Regions from separate parts of the Homo sapiens genome. Here region 2 is linked to region 1. The links are contacts of gene promoters, found by promoter capture Hi-C in human tissues and cell types (Jung and others, 2019). All regions are on one chromosome and are shown on one strand. The core of a region is centred on a gene start or on the middle of the fragment in contact, and the rest is flanking DNA. Distances in the headings are between cores, read along the strand shown. Region 1 holds the start of ZNF222 (zinc finger protein 222). Region 2 has its middle 15 kb from the start of ZNF404.

What was found. Contacts are between HindIII fragments. The study calls those that stand out against the background at their distance.
Region 2: a fragment that was not itself captured here is called in contact with the fragment with the promoter of ZNF222 in region 1 in 3 of the 25 tissues and cell types used here (adrenal gland, dorsolateral prefrontal cortex and pancreas).

The regions. Positions count from the first base shown.
Region 1 is chr19:44,022,760-44,026,691 of GRCh38, forward strand. ZNF222 (zinc finger protein 222) reads left to right here and starts at 2,620. Exons shown (of 4, transcript NM_001129996.2): 1 at 2,620-2,719. The coding sequence starts at 2,678. It overlaps ZNF222-DT (ZNF222 divergent transcript), which reads right to left and starts at 2,523. Exons shown (of 3, transcript NR_184028.1): 1 at 2,356-2,523; 2 at 2,139-2,260; 3 at 1-1,140. RefSeq lists enhancers at 2,586-2,635, 2,866-2,915. The HindIII fragment of the contact is 3,057 bases long and covers 1,751-3,932 here.
Region 2 is chr19:43,867,620-43,871,288 of GRCh38, forward strand. No RefSeq gene overlaps it. Among named protein-coding and RNA genes, the nearest start is that of ZNF404, 15 kb to the right of the region's middle. The HindIII fragment of the contact is 5,020 bases long and covers 1-3,669 here.

The sequences.
Region 1 (3,932 bases), core at 1,370-3,869:
TGGTGGGATGAGAAAAAAAGCAGTAATAGGTGTGAAATTTGTACCTGTAAATACTTAAATTAAAAAAGAAGAAATATCTCAAATTCACAACCCTATTTTACATTCATGAACTACAAAAAAGAATCTGAATAAGAAAGCTAGTGGAAGGAAGGAAATAATAAACATTAAAGCAATGATACATAGAGAATAGAAAAACCAAGAAAATCAATGAAACCAAGAGTTGGTTATTTTCATAAGAAAATTATGAAAACTTCAGTGAGATTGAATAAAAAATGAAGACAGAAGGCTCAAGAAACTAAATCAGAAACAAGAGGGGACATTATTACCAATTTTTACAGAAATAAAGATGATTGTAATAGAATACTATATACAATTGTATGCCAAGAATTTGTATAACTAGATGAAATAGACAAATTCCTTAAAGCATACACCTTACCAAATCTGAATTATGAAGACAAAAAAATCTGAGTAGACCTCTAACTAGTAAGGAGATTGAATCAGTAATCCAAAACCTCCCAATGTAGAAAAGCCCAGGATCAGATGGCTTCACTGGCAAACGCTTCAACACATTTAAGGAACATTTAACACCATAGCTGCTCAACCTCTTCCCAAAAATGCAAGAAGAGAGAACACTTCTTTGATCCTTCTGTCAGGTCAGTATTACCCTGATGCCAAACCAGAAAAAGACAATTCAATAAAATTATACACCAATATCCCTTATGAATACTGATGCAAGAATTCACCAGCAAAATACCAGCAAGATCCAGCAGCATATTAAAAGGATTACACTTAGTGACCGAACTGTTTTATTCCTGGAAGGCGAATATAATTATGGTTCAACATACAAATATCAATGTAATACTCCACATGAGCAGAGTGGAAGGTATAAATCACATCATGTCAGTGAATGCAGAACATTCAGTTTCACAAAATTCAGCACCTAGCACCTTTTCATGATTGAAATACCAAATAACTAGAAGGAGAATAAACTACCCCAGCAAAATAAAGGCTATATATGGAAATTCTCAGAGCTGATTGTCATACTCAATGGTGAAGGACTGAAAGCTTTTCTTCTAATATCAGGAACACAATGAGTTTTCTCCACTTTTCCCACATTTAGTCAATGTAGTATTGGAAGTTCTATGCAGAACAATTAGATAGAAAAAGAAAATAAAGCTATTAAAATTGGAAACAGAGGTAAAATTGTCTATATGCTAATGACATGTTCTTATATATAAAAATTCTAAAGAATTCACAAGAAAAAAAAACTCTTAGAGCTAGTAAAGTCAGAAAGTTGCAGGAAAAATATCTACATAGAAGAAGCAGTTGTATTTCTATACAAAAACAATTAATCTGAAAAGGAAAATAGTTCCCTTTGCAATAGCATTAAATAAATAAATTACTTAGGAACTGTCTTAACCAATGACAAGAAACACTTGGACACTGAATTTTGCAACATCTTACTAAAGAAAATTAAAGAAGGCACCCCAGGCATGGTGGCTTATGCCTGTAATCCCAGCACTTTGTGAGGCCCAGGCAGGCGAATAACTTGAGGCCAGGAGTTCGAGATCAGCCTGGCCAACCTGGTGAAACCCCTGTCTTCACTAAAAATACAAAAATTGGCCAGGTATGGTGGTACGTGCCTGTAATCCCAGCTACTTGGGAGGCTGAGGCAGGAGAATCGCTTGAACTCAGGAGGCGGAGGTTGCAGTGAGCCAAGATTGTGCCACTGCACTCCAGCTTGGGCGACAGAGTGAGACTCTGTCTCAAAAAAAAAAAAAAAAAAATTAAAGAAGGCGCAAATAAATGGAGATATATCCATTATTAATGGATTGGGCGACTTGATATTGCAAGGCTGTCAATACCTATATCTATAGATTCAATGCAATCCTTAATCACAGTAACATTTTTCTCAGAAATGAAAAAATCCACCTGAGATTCATGTGAAATATCAAGGGACACTCTCTCCCATGGTCATATTTTAGACCTCGTCATTTTCTAGCAAATATTCCTCCATAATAATTTGCAGCACTACTCTCCAACAACTTTGACTTGTATTTCCACCTTGGTCCCACCAGCATGCTAGCATCAGTAATATTAGAACCTCGCCAATACCTACAGTCCACTGAGACGATCACCTTTTTACTCTTTCAACTCCTCGTGTACTCACAGCCTGCCAAGCACATTTCTTGTCAGGAGAGGACAGCTCACTTCTCCTAATGTCTCACTTCCCAAAATTGTGTCCCATGAAAATTTCTAGCTAGATGAAGGCAGAGAAAGAAAATATTTGATTTCTTAGGCTTTATGGAAGCGATAGGAATGGCAATAGTGGTTTGGAATGGAGACTGCACGCACCAGTCAACAGGGTGTGTCCCGAATAAGCAGTGGGTAAAGGACATTTACTGAAATGCTATCTCCAACTCCACTTCAGGAAAGCTTGCTGCAGAGTTAGAGTGATATAGTCCAAATGCTCTGTTTGAGTCGCGGGCCCTTTGTCTCACACGGGCGAGTCCGGGGAATTCTGGGAAGTGGAGTCCACACGCTCTGTGGAGGCTCGAGCACTTCCGGTCCCCAACTGTGACGTTGCTATTTCATTTACCACAGTAGTTTGAGTCATTTCCACATCTTGCGAGTCCTTCCGAACGAGTCTCCTTTCCTTGGGGCTCGCAACCACCCAATGATCGATTCAGGAGAAAAGAAGCCTGGGCGGAGAGCAGAGGTTTGGAGGGGCGCGGGCGGGGATTGCCGTTCCAGTCAGCTGAGCCTTCTGGCGTCGGGGGGCTCTGCTAGGGTCTCAGGGAGTGGGATTGGCGCGGCCCGGTGTGCCCTACTTTGACCTCGCTTAGTCCGCCTCCCTCCTCCCTACGTGTGCAGCCCCTTTCAGTGTGGTGTGGAGTGTCACTTAATGTCCGTTTATCTTCCATTGCTGGTTCGTTTGTTTGTTTGTTTTGTAACGGGACTTTTCGGACCATCCTAATGGATTCATTTTGGGACCTGAAAGAGGTAACACAAATGAGAGCCTTAAAAGCAGTCCCTGTCACTCGGTGTCTGGTGGTCTCTTGTTAATTTCCCACGAAGCCTGTCAGGTCCTCTGGTGGGGTCAGAGCTCCAGCTGCAGGGGCGCCGGCCCTTCTGCCTGATCCCTGCAGGACGCTGGATGATCCCTGACGCCTTCTGACCTCTTTTTAGGAAAGTGAGGGGAGCATTTAACTTTTATGGGGGACGGCAAAACGGTCAGGGTGTTTCACAGCTTTCTTTTTCCCCAGCCCGACCTTTCTAAAAGAGCTGCAGGAAGGGACTTCTTGGCTACTGATGGCAAAGCTCTACGTGAGTGATCCTTGGCTTTTTTTCTTTGACAGAGATGCTTACCTCAACCGAGAGTGTGTAGGATTTGTCCCTCGGGCATGGGTGTCGATAATGATTAAGCCTTAATTGGTAACTTTATTCCAAGTACTTTATACCCCAAAATACATGATCTTCACAGTGGCACTGTGGAGAGGTGCTGCTTTTTTCATTTTAAAGATGGGCGTGAGACACAGGTGGAGCAGGAGTTGAAACCTAGGCAGTCCAGGTTAGAGCCTGAGTTGATCATCTCTTGAATGCAATTCTCATTGAGGCAGAGGTACTAGCTGGGAACAGGTGGAGAACGTAAGTTAGGACTTGATTGAAGGCACCTTGAGGCAAGGCTCAGGGGCTTGGACTTCTATAGGAGTTTTTGTTTGTTTGCTTTTTGCTTTTTAATTTTTTTAACCTTATCTACTATTTTCTTTCTCTCTCTCTCTCTATATATATATATATTTTTTTTTTTACAGAGTTTCGCTCTTGTTGCTTAGGCTGGAGTGCAGTGGTGCAATCTTGGCTCACTGTAACCTCCGCCTCTCGGGTTCAAGTGATTCTCCTGCCTCAGTCTCATTTTCGTCAAAGGGCCCGCG
Region 2 (3,669 bases), core at 82-2,581, 160 kb before region 1:
GTAAAAAGCTATAAACTACTAATCTAAGGAATAACATAGCAGAATCTCAAATTTTTCTATTGAATGAAAGAATTAAGGAATAGTAGTATTCATAATGTATGATTCCATTTACATGAAGATCAAGATAAGGTAAAACACATTAATTGTAATAGAAATCAGAACAACAGTAGCCTTAGGAGAATGAAAGATAAGAAGCAAGAGAGAACTTTTAGGAATGATGGAAATGTTCTGTAAGTGTCTTCCTGTTGCAGATACTCTGAATTTTTGATGAGTTGGGGATGAGTCCTTACGTGGAAACATTCATGGAAAGTATTAGCTCTGGGTTTTTTTTTTTGTTTTATTTTTTGTTTTTGACAAGAGCTCACTCTGTTGCCCAGGTTGGAGGGCAGTGGCACCATTTCGGCTCACTGCAACCTCCGCCTCCCAAGTTCAAGCAATTCTTGTGCTTCGGCCTCCTGAGGAGCTGGGATTACAGGCATGCATCACTGCACCAGGCTAATTTTTGTATTTCTAGTAACGTCGGGGTTTTGCCATGTTGGCCGGGCCAAGAACTCCTGGCCTCAAGTGATCCGCCTGCCTCAGCCTTCCAAATGCTGAGATTACAGGTGTGAGCCATTGTGCCCTGCCTTGATGTATTTATTTGAATACTTCAAAAAGAAGAAGAGTTACAGTGATACTAAGGAAATAATTATTAGTAATTAAATGGAAATACTTAGTACTTTATAATTAAATTATTATTCTAGGTTGAAAAGTAAGTATGGACAAAATTTAAAATTTAAAATAAATGAAGGCATATTACACAGAATTGAGTGGAGACCAGTACTATGGTCAGAATTGTAAAAAATGAGCCTGGAAGATAATATACTATGAATTTCATGATGAATGTCAATTGCAATTTGCTGTGAGAGAGCAAAAAAAAAAAGCTGTTTATTACATAACAAATTAAATTGTTAAAGAGAAAAATATTGTGAAACATTTTCAGCAAATACATAGTAAATTTGATGAGACGTTTTCTCTTGAGAAGCAAAATGGAATAGATGAAGTTAGTTGCCTGAAATTAGAATTAAATGTCCAACCAAAATATTTAAACAATTTTTAAACAGAATCTGAGTTTATAACCTTTTTGAGCTATAAAATGGCTCTGATTCTTGCACAAAAAAGAAATGTTGGATATAGAGATAAGATAAATTATTAGTTTGGTTGCAAAAATCTTGTTAGCATATTCTGAGAAAGACTAAAATGATCTTATAAAAAGTAAAAAAAAATTAAGTCACCTAAAAACTGCTCATAGAATACAAGATATTTCTAACAATATCATGGATCAATTAATTCAAAGTTAGCAAAAGCTTCAAGTACTCTTCTTTAGCCATATATGAGTTGTGCAATATAAGATAATTTAGCCCAATTGATACTGTGGGTACATTTTGTCTCAAAAGATCCCCAAATAAAAAAAGCTGTCAATTCGCAGCCTACAAAACCAGAGTCATGACATAGATATTTTTGTCTTTTATATCTGTCAAAGAAAAATTTCTGTTAGGTATCAAAAAATATTTCTATCACAATAGATGATACACCAGCTGTATTAGGTTAAAAATCTGAATTCCTTGGAATTTTAATGCAAGAGACTGATGTCTCCCTAACTGCTTTGCTCTACTGTATAAAGAATATACCTATGAAGTATATACATGTAAATATTATGAATCACGACTACTTCATGGAACTGTTAAAAGAAATAGAGGTCAGGCTTGGTGGCTGACGCCTGTAATCCCAGCATTTTGGGAGGCTGAGGGGGGCGATCATGAGGTCAGCAGATCAAGCCCATCCTGGCTAACACGGTGAAACCCCGTCTCTACTAAAACTACAAAAAATTAGCCAGGTGTGGTGGTGGGCACCTGTAGTCCCAGCTACTCGGGAGGCTGAGGAGAATGGCATGAACCTGGGAGGCGGAGCTTGCAGTGAGCCGAGATCGCGCCACTGCACTCCAGCCTAGGTGATAGAGTGAGACTCCGTCTCAAAAAAACATAACAAAACAAAACAAAAAAGAAATAGAGAACAATTAATCTTATGTTCTTTCCCAATGCTCATCTGTTTAATGGTGTAAGACATTTACAAAGATTTCTCGTACTTTGAACTCCAGTTCAAGATTTTCTTTAAAGAAAGTTTTCCAAATATTTAATAATAAAGGAAAAAGAAGACAGTGATTTTTTTTCTCACCAGTATCACATTGCATATGAATAAGCAAAATCTGAAACTCCAAGGAAAGGAAAGCTTTTTTTTCGTGACCTAGTGAAAATAATAGGAACATTCATTGAAATGAAAACTTTTCACTGTATAAGTTCATAATAATGATTTTATATATTTTTCTAGCATGAATCAATATATAGAGGATTTTAACAGGACTGAAAAGCCTTGTGAAAAGATGCATGCAATGAAGAAATAGGCAATCTTAGTAAAGAAATAGGAACTATAAAAGTACTAAAGGAAAATTCTAGAACTGAAAAATGTAATATCTGAAATTAAACAATTTGATAGATAGGCTTAGCAGCAGAACTGAAATGACAGAGAAAAAGAATAAGTGAATTTGAAAACAGAGTAACAGAAGTTGTCCAAGCTGAAGAACAGAAAAAAAATACTGAAGATAAATAACAAAGACAGTGACCTGTGGGACAGTACCAAAAGATTTAACGTATGAGTAGAGTAAATGCAGAAAAAATATTTGAAGATATAATGGCCAAGAATTTCTGGAATTTGGTGAAAGGCACATGTGTGCAAATTTCAGAGGCTCAGAGTACCCCAAGCAGAATTAACACAAAGAAAACCATACCTAGGCACCTCATACTCAAACAGCTGAAAACCAAAAGTAATAAGAAAATCTGGAAAGCACCCAGAGAAAAAGGACACATTACATAAGAGAAAAAACAATTCAAATGACTTCTTCTTGTAAACTATGGAGACTTGAAGACCAGAAGTCGGTGATTTATATATACATATATGAAACAATATATATCTCTTTATGAGTATATATATGTGTGTGTATTCTTTGTGTGTGTGCATATACACACACATATATTCATATATCTCCAAAAAACTGCCAACCCAGAATTCTATAGCCAGAAGAAATCCTTAAAAAATAAAGGCATTTCAGTAAAAGAAACTATGAAAATTCATCACCAGCAGACGTTCACTCCAAGAAATGCTAAGTTAAGTTCCTCAAACTGTAGGGAAATGATACCAGAGAAAAATTCAGATCTCTGGAAAGAAATAAACAGCATGGGAAATAGTAAATATATGGGTAAATATAAAAGATGAGGATTTTCATCTTAATTTCTTTAAGCAACTGGGTGTAGCACTGTGTGCCTATAGTCCCAGCTACTCCAGAGGTTGAGGCAGGAGGATTGCCTGAGCTCAGGAGTTCAAGGCTGTAGTGTGCTATATAACATCTGTGAATAGCCACTGAATTCCAGCCTGGGCAACATAGCAATACCCCATCTCTAAAAATAGAATACAGAAGACTGTTCAAATTTCCAACATGACTTTCCATGGATTACTTATTTAATTGCAAAGAAAAAATTCACCCATAACAATGGAAGGAGCTGGTGGTCAATACATGAATCAAGGGATAAAACATAGTTTCACTTGTAGGCCACCTGATACTTTACAATATTAAGT